Linked DNA regions of Homo sapiens: region 1 is linked to region 2. Evidence: promoter capture Hi-C in human tissues and cell types (Jung and others, 2019). All regions are on one chromosome and are shown on one strand. The core of a region is centred on a gene start or on the middle of the fragment in contact, and the rest is flanking DNA. Distances in the headings are between cores, read along the strand shown.

Region 1 (5,752 bases), core at 3,227-5,726, 150 kb after region 2:
GCCAAGGTGGGCAGATCACTTGAGGTCAGGAGATCGAGACCAGCCTGGCCAACATGGCAAAACCCTGTCTCTACTAAAAATACAAAAAAATTAGCCAGCCGTGGTGGCGCACACCTGAAATCCCAGCTACTCAGGAGGTGGAGGCTTCAGTGAGCCGAGAGCGTGCCTCTGCACTCCAGCCTGGGTGACAAAGCGAGACTCCGTCTCAAAAATTAAAATTAAAATTAACTGGGCATAGTGGCATGCACCTGTAGTCCCAGCTACTTGGGTGGCTAAGGTGAGAGGATTGCTTGAGCCCAGGAGTTTGAGGCTGCAGTGAGCCATGATTGCACCACTGCACTCCAGCCTGAGTGACAGAATGAGACTCTGTCTCAAAATATATATATATATTTATAGTAAAACATATATGGCAAAAACACTGGCCACTTGTTTTGCGATGGTGATACAAATACAAATATATATCATCACTAAGCAAGTGGCCAGTGTTTTTGCCATATATGTTTTACTATAAATACAAACTACAGCATACTTTACTGTTTGGCATGGCAGTGATTTTTATGAATTAGGCACCTGTGAGGTAGATGTTACTCTGCCCATTTTACACTCAAAGAACCTGGGCTTAGGAGGGTTCAGATTTGCCTACGACTGCACAGCTGGTAGGTGGTAGAGCCAGAATTCAAGTTCAGATTTGTCTGGGTCCACGGTGGGCGCCTGACCTCCACTCCACAACTTCCCTTCCTGGGGACATAAATCGTGTCTGTTCCCAGGCCTATTCATCAGTTCACCAGGGTGGTCTAACGTCCATGGAGCCCCTGACATGTGCTAGTGCTGAACTAAATGAGCTTGAAGAAGCTTGAAAGTGAACAGGAGAAGGCTCCTCTAGAGTATGAACAATAGTGGATTGTTTTTACCATGCTTACCTTTGTGGAAGAGAGCTGAAATTTTCACCTCTTCTTTCTTATAGGCTGCCAGGGCACAGTGCCCCCCAAGGACTGAAATAGACTAGATTTCCTTCTCTTTTTAATGTTTAAACTTTAAAAGAAATGCGTGCTAGCTGTAAAAATTCAAAAAAAAAGCCCGTCTGCCTCAGTCCTGCAGCCCTCTCCAGAGGGAGTGACCTCGTACAGTTTGGCACATATTATTCCAGTCTTTATCCATTTGTAAGCATAAAAAGTGCATACTTTTATGAGGCTATAAATGCATAAAGACGGATATATAAAATATATAAGTGTATATATAATTTTAGGGCTTTTTTAGTGGGGGAAAATCCACAAATGGATAATACTTTGGATATTTTCTGCAGCTCGCTTTTTTCCACCTGACGTACATTTACGTCTCACATTGCCATTCCTCCTTTGCAGAGATCCTACAGTAAGGAATTGTTTGAAGAAGTTATTTCAAAGATGCGGAAGGCAGGGATCAAATCCACAATAGCAATAGAAAAATTTAAGCTGCTCGCCGAGAAAGTGGAGGAGATAGTGGCCAAGAACGCACGCGCAGAAATCGACTACAGCGACGCTCCTGATGAGTTCAGAGGCAAGTGGACTCGTCGTTTTCATGCTGATTTCTTTTGAGTTAACTGGAAATCGATAACATTACAAGAGGACGTCCTGTGCAATTAATTTTTTAATGGTGTGCTAGAGCTGCTTTTTGAGACAATCTGTCTTAAATTACATTTGCCTATTTTTAGCTCATATTGTAAATTGAGAGGAAGAAACATCCTTAGCTTAGCCTGACTTAAAGCCAGATAACAACCCTGAAGATTCTAAGGGCAGGGCTGCCTTTGCAAGTGGGGATTCACATTTTCAAAGAATTCCCAGAAGTCCTAAGACAAAGAATTCCAGCCTGCCGTCCTCGCCACGGAGCCTGTGGGGCCTGCTGCTGGGTCTGTCCCAGGCTTTCTTCTCTGTTCCCTCCCCCCAGCAGTAGCTGACAAAGAAGCGCCTTCCCCTTACAAAAGGCAATGTATATGCCTTTATTGAAGGCTGATTTCCTTCTAAACCTGGGGGCCTCACAGGGGCCCTTTGATTGCTGTTCCTTTGGATAGATTTTTCGCTGGTAGAACGGGCTTTGTTTTCTTTTTCAGTCGTGGGCTCTCAGTAGATTAGAGTTTGCTTTGCTTTGTCCCCGCAGACCCTCTGATGGACACCCTCATGACAGACCCCGTGCGGCTGCCCTCTGGCACCATCATGGACCGCTCCATCATCCTGCGGCACCTGCTCAACTCCCCCACGGACCCCTTCAACCGGCAGACGCTGACAGAGAGCATGCTGGAACCAGGTAGAGGAGGGTGCAGTTTGAGGTGCAGCGCTGGCGTCAGTACCAAGAGATAAAGCCCAAGTCACATATTGGAGATGAAGCAGAAGGGAAATTTATCAAATGCAGAAACTACCTACTTTATGACACTCTGTAGCAAAGACCCAAAACACTCTTGGCCCTTTTTCCCTGCAGACATCCAGTCCCTCCCTCTCATGTCCCAGTCCTTCTGGAGTCTTCGGCTCAATGAGGGAAAGAATGGCCTTTTCTTCCCATTTATACAGAGCGACAAGCATCCTCTCTCAGGAAGAGCCCTCCCATCTGGGGCATTAATCCTCCTTTTTTTCTTTTCTCAGTGCCAGAACTGAAAGAGCAGATTCAGGCGTGGATGAGAGAGAAACAGAACAGCGATCACTAAACCGTTCCGCCGCCCACCCTCTGCTAGACACAGCCAAGGCCAACGAGGCAAGCAGAAGCAGCGGCCGCAGCGAAGCTGCCGTTCATGTGTTGGAGGCCAAATGTGGCAAACCAACCCCAGGCCCACCCAGAGCGAGCAAACGCTGAGACCTGAAAGGACATGGATGAGAAGAGGAGCCCGCTTCCTGTACATATATTTAAGTGACAAACACGGTCAAAAGCTTAAGGGACAGGTTTTATGGTTGCTTGTGTAATAAAGCATGTCCTTCGTATGTCACAGTTTGGGGCAACGGAAGTCTTTTAGTGATGGCTAATGGGTCTGGGCAGCATCCCTTCATGAATTTTTTTTTAATCCAATATCCGTTGATTTGATTGTGATTAGAGAACCTTGGACATTTTGCTGCTAAAGAATCTTTTTTCCCCTCTCCCCCTTCCTGACCCTACTTGCACTGCTGTGGATTTTTTTAAGAGAAGCAAAAACAAAAGTAAACTCCTTTCCCTGGCCCTCCAAACATATATTCTGTGAGATAACTGTGCCTGCTACCAAGTGTTAATCCTGGGATCGTATTTTTATATCATATTCACATATTTGTTTTTTTAATTGGTGTTAGATGACATGATTAATAAAAAAGGCAAGATATTTTCAGAATTTGAATTTCAGTTTTTTTTTTCTTTTGAAATGTCCCTTTAAGATTTTTTTATTCTAAACAAAATAAAGAAAATCCTGCTGCTCTGGTCCTTGTGATAAGCCTCTCTTCGGCATCTGAGGAGCAGCTGCAGCAAAATCTAGGGGTGTAAGTGTATCAGGACTTATGTGACTTATATTTTGGGGAGATGAGGGTTGGGTTTTTTTTTTAATGCTACGTGACAGTTTGAAACCTTCACAGTTATCCTCTGGGGGTAAATCAATTCTTCAACCCTTGGGTGTGTGAGTTTGAGGCAGGGTCATTTGTGTGATGTGTTTGGCCTTACCAAAGCAAAAGAGGGTGCAAGAATGTGGGAGTATGTCTGCCGGTTTCAACACACACAGACAAACACAGCCACACGCGCACACAAGTATAAGACTTTTTGTATTACTGCTCCCTACTTAACATACTTGAATTCTCAAATTTCCTTTGGGGTAAAAAAAAAAAAAGGATTTGAAACCATAAAGTGTTCTGAAGAAATTAAGTCTATAAAAAGCATACTTTCTTTTTTCTTTTCCTTTTTTCCCTCCACAGACAATGTCCTCTGTTCAATTCCTAACGCAAACTACAATAAATGGTGACACACGTTCAGAAGAAATCTTCTTTGAGTCTCTTCTCTTTTGTGGAAAAAAAAAAAGGGCAGGGCGGGTGGGTAAACAAGAGCCAAGTGAGTTTGCATGTGGTGAATGATCTTTCCTGGATCCAATTAGGAGCTGCTATTTTTAAAAGAAAACTTTCTTATTCATGTCAGTCTCGACATTTGGTTCTCATTTCACTGTTTGCTGATTTGAGGGGGTAAGCTTTGTCATATTCAGTCTTCTGCCTTTCTTGAGTTTCTTCTGCTTTATCTCAAGTATCTTCCCTGACCTTCAAGATTCTTCCTCAGGCCGGGCCCGGTGGCTCACGCCTGTAATCCCAGCACTTTGGGAGGCTGAGGCGGATGGATCACCTGACGTCAGGAATTCGAGACCAGCCTGGCCAGCATGGTGAAACCCCATCTCTACTAAAAATACAAAAAATTAGCCGGGCGTAGTGGCAGCGCCTGTAGTCCCAGCTACTCGGGAGGCTGAGACAGGAGAATTGCTTGAACCTGGGAGGTGGAGGTTGCAGTGAGCCGAGATGACGTCATCACACTCCAGCCTGGGTGACAGCGAGACTCCGTCTCAAAAAAGAAAAAATATATATTTATATATATTTACATATATATTTATTTATATATATTTATATATATATATATAACATGGCCAGGTGCGGTGGCTCACGCCTGTAATCCCAGCACTTTGGGAGGCCAAGGCAGGTGTATCGTCTGAGGTCAGGAGTTCTAGACCAGCCTGGCCAACATGGTGAAACCCCATCTCAACTGAAAATACAAAAATTAGCTGGGCGTGGTGGTGGGTGCCTATAATCCCAGCTACTCGGGGGGCCGAGGCAGGAGAATTGCTTGAACCCAGGAGGTGGAGGTTGCAGTGAGCTGAGATCGCGCCATCGCACTCCAGCCTAGGGGACAAGAGTGAGACTTCGTCTCAAAAAATAGATAGATAGATAGACACAATAAATAAGGAAAAAGTTCATGATAGCAAAAATTTTAGGCAATATAAGCAAAAAGAAAAAAAATCCATATTCTCACCATGCAGAAGATTCTGTTTAATTGGGTTTACTTTTTACTAAACTTACATATCTAAGCTTAGTGCCTGTAGAATTAGGATACTGACTGGCATCTTGCCTAATTTTGTTTGTGTGGTTATCTGACCAGTGTGTACTGCTTGTCTCCTCTCCATCCCAGATTCCAAACTCTTATTTTAATCCTCCAGTTGTCCCCGTGAATGTAATAAAATGCTGCTTTATACCGCCATATGCACTTGTCGTTTTGAATAATTCAGAGGTTTCAAGGACCTGCCGGATAGGACAGAGACACAGTCAGTCTCCTGCCTGTACTATCTATAGGGGGAAGATGATTTGGGTTTCCATTTTTAGAGTCTCAAGAGTTGCTGTTTTGTGTTTGTCTGCAGTCTCTTAATTGTGGATATTGAAATAAATCCCAAAATATATTAAAAGTAGGTCTTGGCTAAAAGGAAGATTGTCAAATAAGAGAATCAGATTGGCAGAAGAGAAATGATCCTTGAGAGAAAGATGATTAAAATCTGCCTTGTGTTGTGACTCAGTGTTGTGTAGATTTTAAAAAGATATTGATTGAATATCTTTTGAAAAAAAAGCTGAGCACACCGTTCACTTTTTGTAACCTCTGGGTTTGGTACATCGAGTAGTGAATTTCACAGCAATTTGATTGGAGTGCTAAAGTGACATGAATAGGCCTCATTTGAGTAGGTACTTTTTTTTGTTTTTTGGTTTTTTTCAGACGGAGTCTCGCTCCGTCACCCAGGCTGGAGTGCAGT
Region 2 (5,743 bases), core at 250-2,749:
CTGTGAACATAATAAAACCACTGTACACCTTAATTGGGTGAATTGTATGGTATGTAAATTAGATGGCAATAATGAGGTTAAAAAAAGTAAACTTTTAACATCAATGTCACCAGGGGTTCAAGTTCTGGCTTACACAGAATTCCTTTCCTGGAGAGCAGATAATATGCAAAGCCAGCAGTGATTTATTTTTACTCACAAATTCCTTACATATTTTTACTCACAAATTCCTTACATATCTAGTAGTCAGGTTCCTATTTTAAGCATGTAGCAAATACATTGTAACTCTTAATTCTGGAATGCAGTCTTTATGGCTTAGTGAGCCATCCAATCCACTTATAGTCTTCGTCAGCGGCAAAATCTGGAATTTCATGGTACTGTTACTTTGATCGCTCAACTTAGATTTATATTTTATAAATATATATATACATACATATATATATATTTTTTGAGATGGAGTCGCGCTCTGTCGCCCAGGCTGGAGTGCAGTGGCGCGATCTCGGCTCACTGCAAGCTCCGCCTCCCGGGTTCACGCCATTCTCCTGCCTCAGCCTCCCGAGTAGCCGGGACTACAGGCGCCCGCCGCCACATCTGGCTGATTTTTTGTATTTTTTAGTAGAGACGGGGTTTCACCGTGTTAGCCAGGATGGTCTCGATCTCCTGACCTCGTGATCCGCCCGCCTCGGCCTCCCAAAGTGCTGGGATTACAGGCGTGAGCCACCGCGCCCGGCCAAATATTTGTATTCTTGTGCACCGGAGGATGGTTTTCCCCCACTGACTCCAAACGTCTTCCTTGCATTTGCTGTGTACAATTCAGTGATTTGGGTCTCTCATCCATTTATACTTTCAAATTTTACCAATACTTTTTGAACACACTTAAAAAAAAAAAAACCCAGGAAGTATCTCTAAAAGGCCAAGGTAAAATAAAATGAATGGGAGTTCTTGTGTTCGAGTTTTCTTCCAACTGGGCTTTCCTGGAGGAGGTGGAAGAGTGTGTGGCAGATGTTTCAGAAAATGAGCGCTCAATACGGTAGATCACGCTCCCGGGGTCAAGGAGACGTTTTCCGTTTTCTTTTCCCTCGCTTAGGCGGCGGGCGCGCACAGTCCAGTGGGAGCGATGAGGTGTTTCTAGGCCCCCAAGTCACAGAAAAGCAGGCGATTGGGAACAACGGAGGCGCGGCGGGCCCCCGGGCCGCGGGCCAGCGCCACCTTCTGGTGGATCTTCCCCGACGCGAGTCTGGGAGTCGTCCCTCCCCTTGCCAGCCTACCTGGCTCAGGCCCGCCGCGCCCGCAGCCCCAGCGCGGTCGCCGTGGCAACGCCCCGCCCAGCCGCCAGCCTCCCTTTGCCCCTCCCCACGTCCGGCGCGGCTGCGCGGGACGGGGTGGGACGGAGGCGGGGAGAGGACGCAGGCGAGAGGAACTCGGCGGCGCGGCGCCCGCGGCCTATTGGCTGCCACGTCCCGGCGCCAGAAGCCCCGCCTCCCTGACGGGGGTCACGTGATCCCTTTCAAAGATGGCCGCCCTGTTGTTTTGATGAATAATACTTGGTGGGGCGAGGGGGAAAGAGTAGGGGTGGAGGGGTAGGAGGATTTACTCTTCCAGCGAGAGCTACGCGCATCCCATCCTCCCCCTCCCCCCTACCCGGGCTCCGGCGTGGAGGCGGGGCGTGGCCGGCCTGCTTTGGGAGGGGAGGGGCTTCCCTTACAGTGCTGGGCTCTGCCAGGACGGCTGTGGGGTCGCCTTACCTCGGGGTATCCACTCTGCAGTCGACCAGTTCCCGCCAGGAGCAAAGGGTAGGAAGGAGAGCAGGATCTGCTGTAGGAACGCAGCTACCGCGCCACTATCACGAAGAAACAGCAGGCTCGGGGCACGAGACGAACTGGAGACCGCGCTGCCTAGCTGGGTAACCTGGGAAGCAGAGGGTAATAAGTGGCGCCTTAAGACAACCCTGTAGCAGCAGCAGTGGCGGCCAAAGGAGGCTGCTCAGGGAACAAGCGGCTGTAGTAGTCTGTGGGGCGACTGGAGTGACCGAAGCCAAGGCAGTTTAGTGCCTCTCGTGTTCTTATTTTTTAACCTCTGACTATGCAATTCTGAAACCTCCCCCATTCGGGGGACCAGACAGCCTGATAGACACCTTCCACTCTCCTTCCTCCCGCCGTGGTCTCGAGAACAGAAGGATCTCTCCTTAACGCCTTTCACCATTAAGAGGAAAGCGATGGAGGAGCTGAGCGCTGATGAGGTGAGGAGGTTGGGGGACACCTTGAGGGATTAGTTGGCAACTCGTTAGCGCTTTGGACAGGGATGGTATTGCGCCAGTGCTGTCTGGCCTTTGGGCTTGGAGAAGGAACGGAGATGATATTTTCCAAGAATAACGTGACTCCCCGATAGGGTCTCTGGTTTTGTTCTCCTTTATTCTGTTGCCTTCTTTCTTCATTCTGAACTCCATTTGCTTCTTTCCGAGTGTTCTTTTAGGGTATGAACAAGAGGAGAGAGCATCTTGAGGTGTTTATTCTTTTCTTCAGGGTATGCGAACAAGAAGGGCGAGATTTACATGAAGTTAAAGTGTGTGTGTGTCTGTGTCTTCAGGAATTTAAAGAACAATTTTGGATGGAATGAGAATGTATGGTGGGTGAATATTTTTAAAGAAAGCATTTGAAATTCCAGATATGTGTGGTTATTGCACTGTATAAGCTTGATTAAACATATATTTTTGCTTGAGGGGTGGTTTACAGACAGATTCTTTGATATTTAACAAAATATGTATCTTCTCCACAGTTTAGAGAATTCCAGTTATATTCTGGTACTTAATAGACCACTAATGACTTCTGGCATTCTTCTGTTACATTCTATCTTTTCCTACTTCTTGAATCTTTCAAACTTGTGTTTTGCTGTAGCAGAGACTGAACGGGAAGCAAGTGGAAGCAAATGACTTTCTAAACTCTCTCCTGTTCTCATTTCTTAAAGGAGTTATACAGATCTACTTCTTGATGTTTTAAAGATTGTTTAATAAATTAGGTTGTTGTAAAAAAAAAAACAACCAAAAAGCAGTGGCAATTAGGGTACAAGGAATTTCCTATGATTCTACTGCCTTTTCTCTTCCTTTTTGCAAATTAGGAGCTTCCCTTTCAGGACCCCTACTGGCCATACCCTCTTTAGCCTACCTCCACATTTCTTCACTGGTTCATCATGTAAACTTCCCTACAGTATTAGGAAAGCAGTCATCCATCAAGTTGATTGTACTACAAGACTTCCATGCTCCAGTTTTAGCTACAGAGTACTTAGTGTGTTTACTTAGGGACTGAAATTCTCCTGGGATAGGACACGCAGTGGTGTGTTAAGGGTCAGGTAGGAAAGGAAGCAAATGATTTTGTTGATTGTGATACTTGGATACTTGGTTTGGAAAATCAGGACTGCCCATTCGGCGTTACTTTGTTTTTTTCGAATACAGCAGAAATGTAATCTTAAGTGAAGAGAATATTACACAGTTTCTTTCATTCGGTAGGAAATCTCCTTAGAATCGCTTTATTTTATGTGGGTTTTTTTTTGTTTGTTTGTTTTTTTGAGACGGAGTCTTGCTCTGTCGCCCAGGCTGCAGTGCAGTGGCGCGATCTCGTCTCACTGCAAGCTCCGCCTCCCGGGTTCACACCATTCTCCTGCCTCAGCCCCCTGAGTAGCTGGGACTACAGGCGCCCGCTACCACGCCCGGCTATTTTTTGTATTTTTAGTAGAGATGGGGTTTCACCATGTTGGCCAGGATGGTCTCCATCTCTTGACCTCGTGATGCACCCGCCTCAGCCTCCCAAAGTGCTGGGATTACAGGCGTGAGCCACCGCGCCTGGCCTGTTTTATGTGGTTTTTTAAAAGTTTCTCTACCTCCCCCGTTTTTCATTAATGTTAATTCTAGTGAGTAATTTCTCTTAAGGCAGAGATACTGTTTTTTTTTTTTTTTTTTTTTTTTTGAGGCGGAGTCTCGCTCTGTCGCCCAGGCTGGAGTGCAGTGGCGCTATCTCAGCTCACTGCAAGCTCTGCCTCCCGGGTTCACGCCATTCTCCTGCCTCAGACTCCGGAGTAGCTGGGACTACAAGCGCCCGCCACCACTCCCGGCTAGTTTTTTGTATTTTTTTGTGTTTTTAGTAGAGACGGGGTTTCACTGTGTTAGCCAGGATGGTCTCGATTTCCTGACCTTGTGATCTGCCCGCCTCGGCCTCCCAAAGTGCTGGGATTACAGGCGTGAGCCACCGTGACCGGCCAGAGATAGTTTTTTTATTTTTTTTTATTTTTTATTTATTTTATTTTATTTTTTTTGAGACGGAGCCTCGCTCTGTTGCCCAGGCTAGAGTGCAGTGGCGCGATCTCAGCTCACTGCAAAGCTCCGCTTCCCGGGTTCACGCCATTCTCCTGCCTCAGCCTCCCGAGTAGCTGGGACTACAGGCGCCCGCCACCACGCCCGGCTAATTTTTTGTGTTTTTAGTAGAGACGGGGTTTCACCGTGTTAGCCCAGGATGGTCTCAATCTCCTGACCTCGTGATCCGCCCGCCTCGGCCTTCCAAAGTGCTGGGATTACAGGTGTGAGCCACCGCGCCCGGCCGAGGTAGTTTTTTAGTAGTCCTTTACTCCTATAAATTACTTTTTTTTTTTTTTTTTGATGATCTGTTAATAGTCCTTGGTTTAGAGGCTTTTGCATACTTGAGTTTTCACCAAAAAATTCTTTTCAAACCAGTGAGGCATTACAGACCAGTGAAGATATTGTATAATCTAAAATGTGTCTCTTCACTTTCATCAGTCCTTGAGGAAGGTGTAACTTTTTTTTGTGACCATATGAGGAACACATGTAACCTTTGTGGAAGAAATAGAATAAACTTTTTTCAAGGTCAACAGAATATTAAAATAAATGAAAAAAATTAAATTCACTAATACAGGATCAATGTAAAATTATCTTCAACAAATTAGTTGTCCAGAACACAAAGGGCTGGTTCAATAACTGTTAATTTTACTCTCAGCAGAACCTAGAACAAATAATATTCGTTTGTTTTTAATTTAAAAAATCTTTTTTTTTTTTGTAGAGACGGGGGTCTTGCCATGTTTCCCAGGATGGTCTCAAACTCCTGACCTCAAGCGATCCTCCCACTTCAGCCTCCCAAAGTGGGAGCCAGACAAATAGTTATTTTGGGAAAAATATCTTTGAAGTTTTTCTTTTTAATTCAATTAAAAATTTTTGAGGTTAGGTAAGCAGTTCTCATGAGACATTTCCAAAGCTTTTGCCTTTGTATTGTTACTCTGTAGTTGAAAACTTGTGTCAGATATGGTAGGTGACATTGATTTGATTACAAAATAATACACTTATATTATTGAAACTTCAAGCTTATATTTCAGGGTTAAAACAGGCAAGGCGGTGATCTTTTAATCTAATTTAGGAAATTAGGTAAGGCAGAGTTTCATATTTTAACAAAATGAAAATGTATGATTATACAGTCCGTGAAAAAGGCTGGTATAACCAGACTGGTAGCTTTAGGAACTTTTAAATTATGTGCACTTTTTGGTCCCTGTCATAGATCACCTAGAATTCTTGTGCTTTTTAAATTTTTTTGTGAGACAGAGTTTCGCTCTTGTTGCCCAGGCTGGAGTGCAATGGCGCGATCTTGGCTCATTGCAACCTCTGCCTCCCGGGTTCAAGCGATTTTCCTGCGTCAGCCTCCCAAGTAGCTGGAATTACAGGCATGCGCCACCATACCCGGCTAATTTTGTA

The links. Contacts are between HindIII fragments. The study calls those that stand out against the background at their distance.
Region 1: a contact is called between a fragment that was not itself captured here and the fragment with the promoter of UBE4B in region 2, in 1 of the 25 tissues and cell types used here (hippocampus).

Annotation. Positions count from the first base shown.
Region 1 is chr1:10,177,283-10,183,034 of GRCh38, forward strand. UBE4B (ubiquitination factor E4B) reads left to right here. Exons shown (of 28, transcript NM_001105562.3): 26 at 1,362-1,536; 27 at 2,134-2,280; 28 at 2,613-3,957. The coding sequence ends at 2,674. Among named protein-coding and RNA genes, the nearest start is that of KIF1B, 30 kb to the right of the region's middle. The HindIII fragment of the contact is 5,206 bases long and covers 1,874-5,752 here.
Region 2 is chr1:10,031,459-10,037,201 of GRCh38, forward strand. It overlaps UBE4B (ubiquitination factor E4B), which reads left to right and starts at 1,500. Exons shown (of 28, transcript NM_001105562.3): 1 at 1,500-2,236. The coding sequence starts at 2,213. RefSeq lists silencers at 1,118-1,507, 1,538-1,757 and enhancers at 1,272-1,926, 2,318-2,367. The HindIII fragment of the contact is 12,263 bases long and covers 1-3,970 here.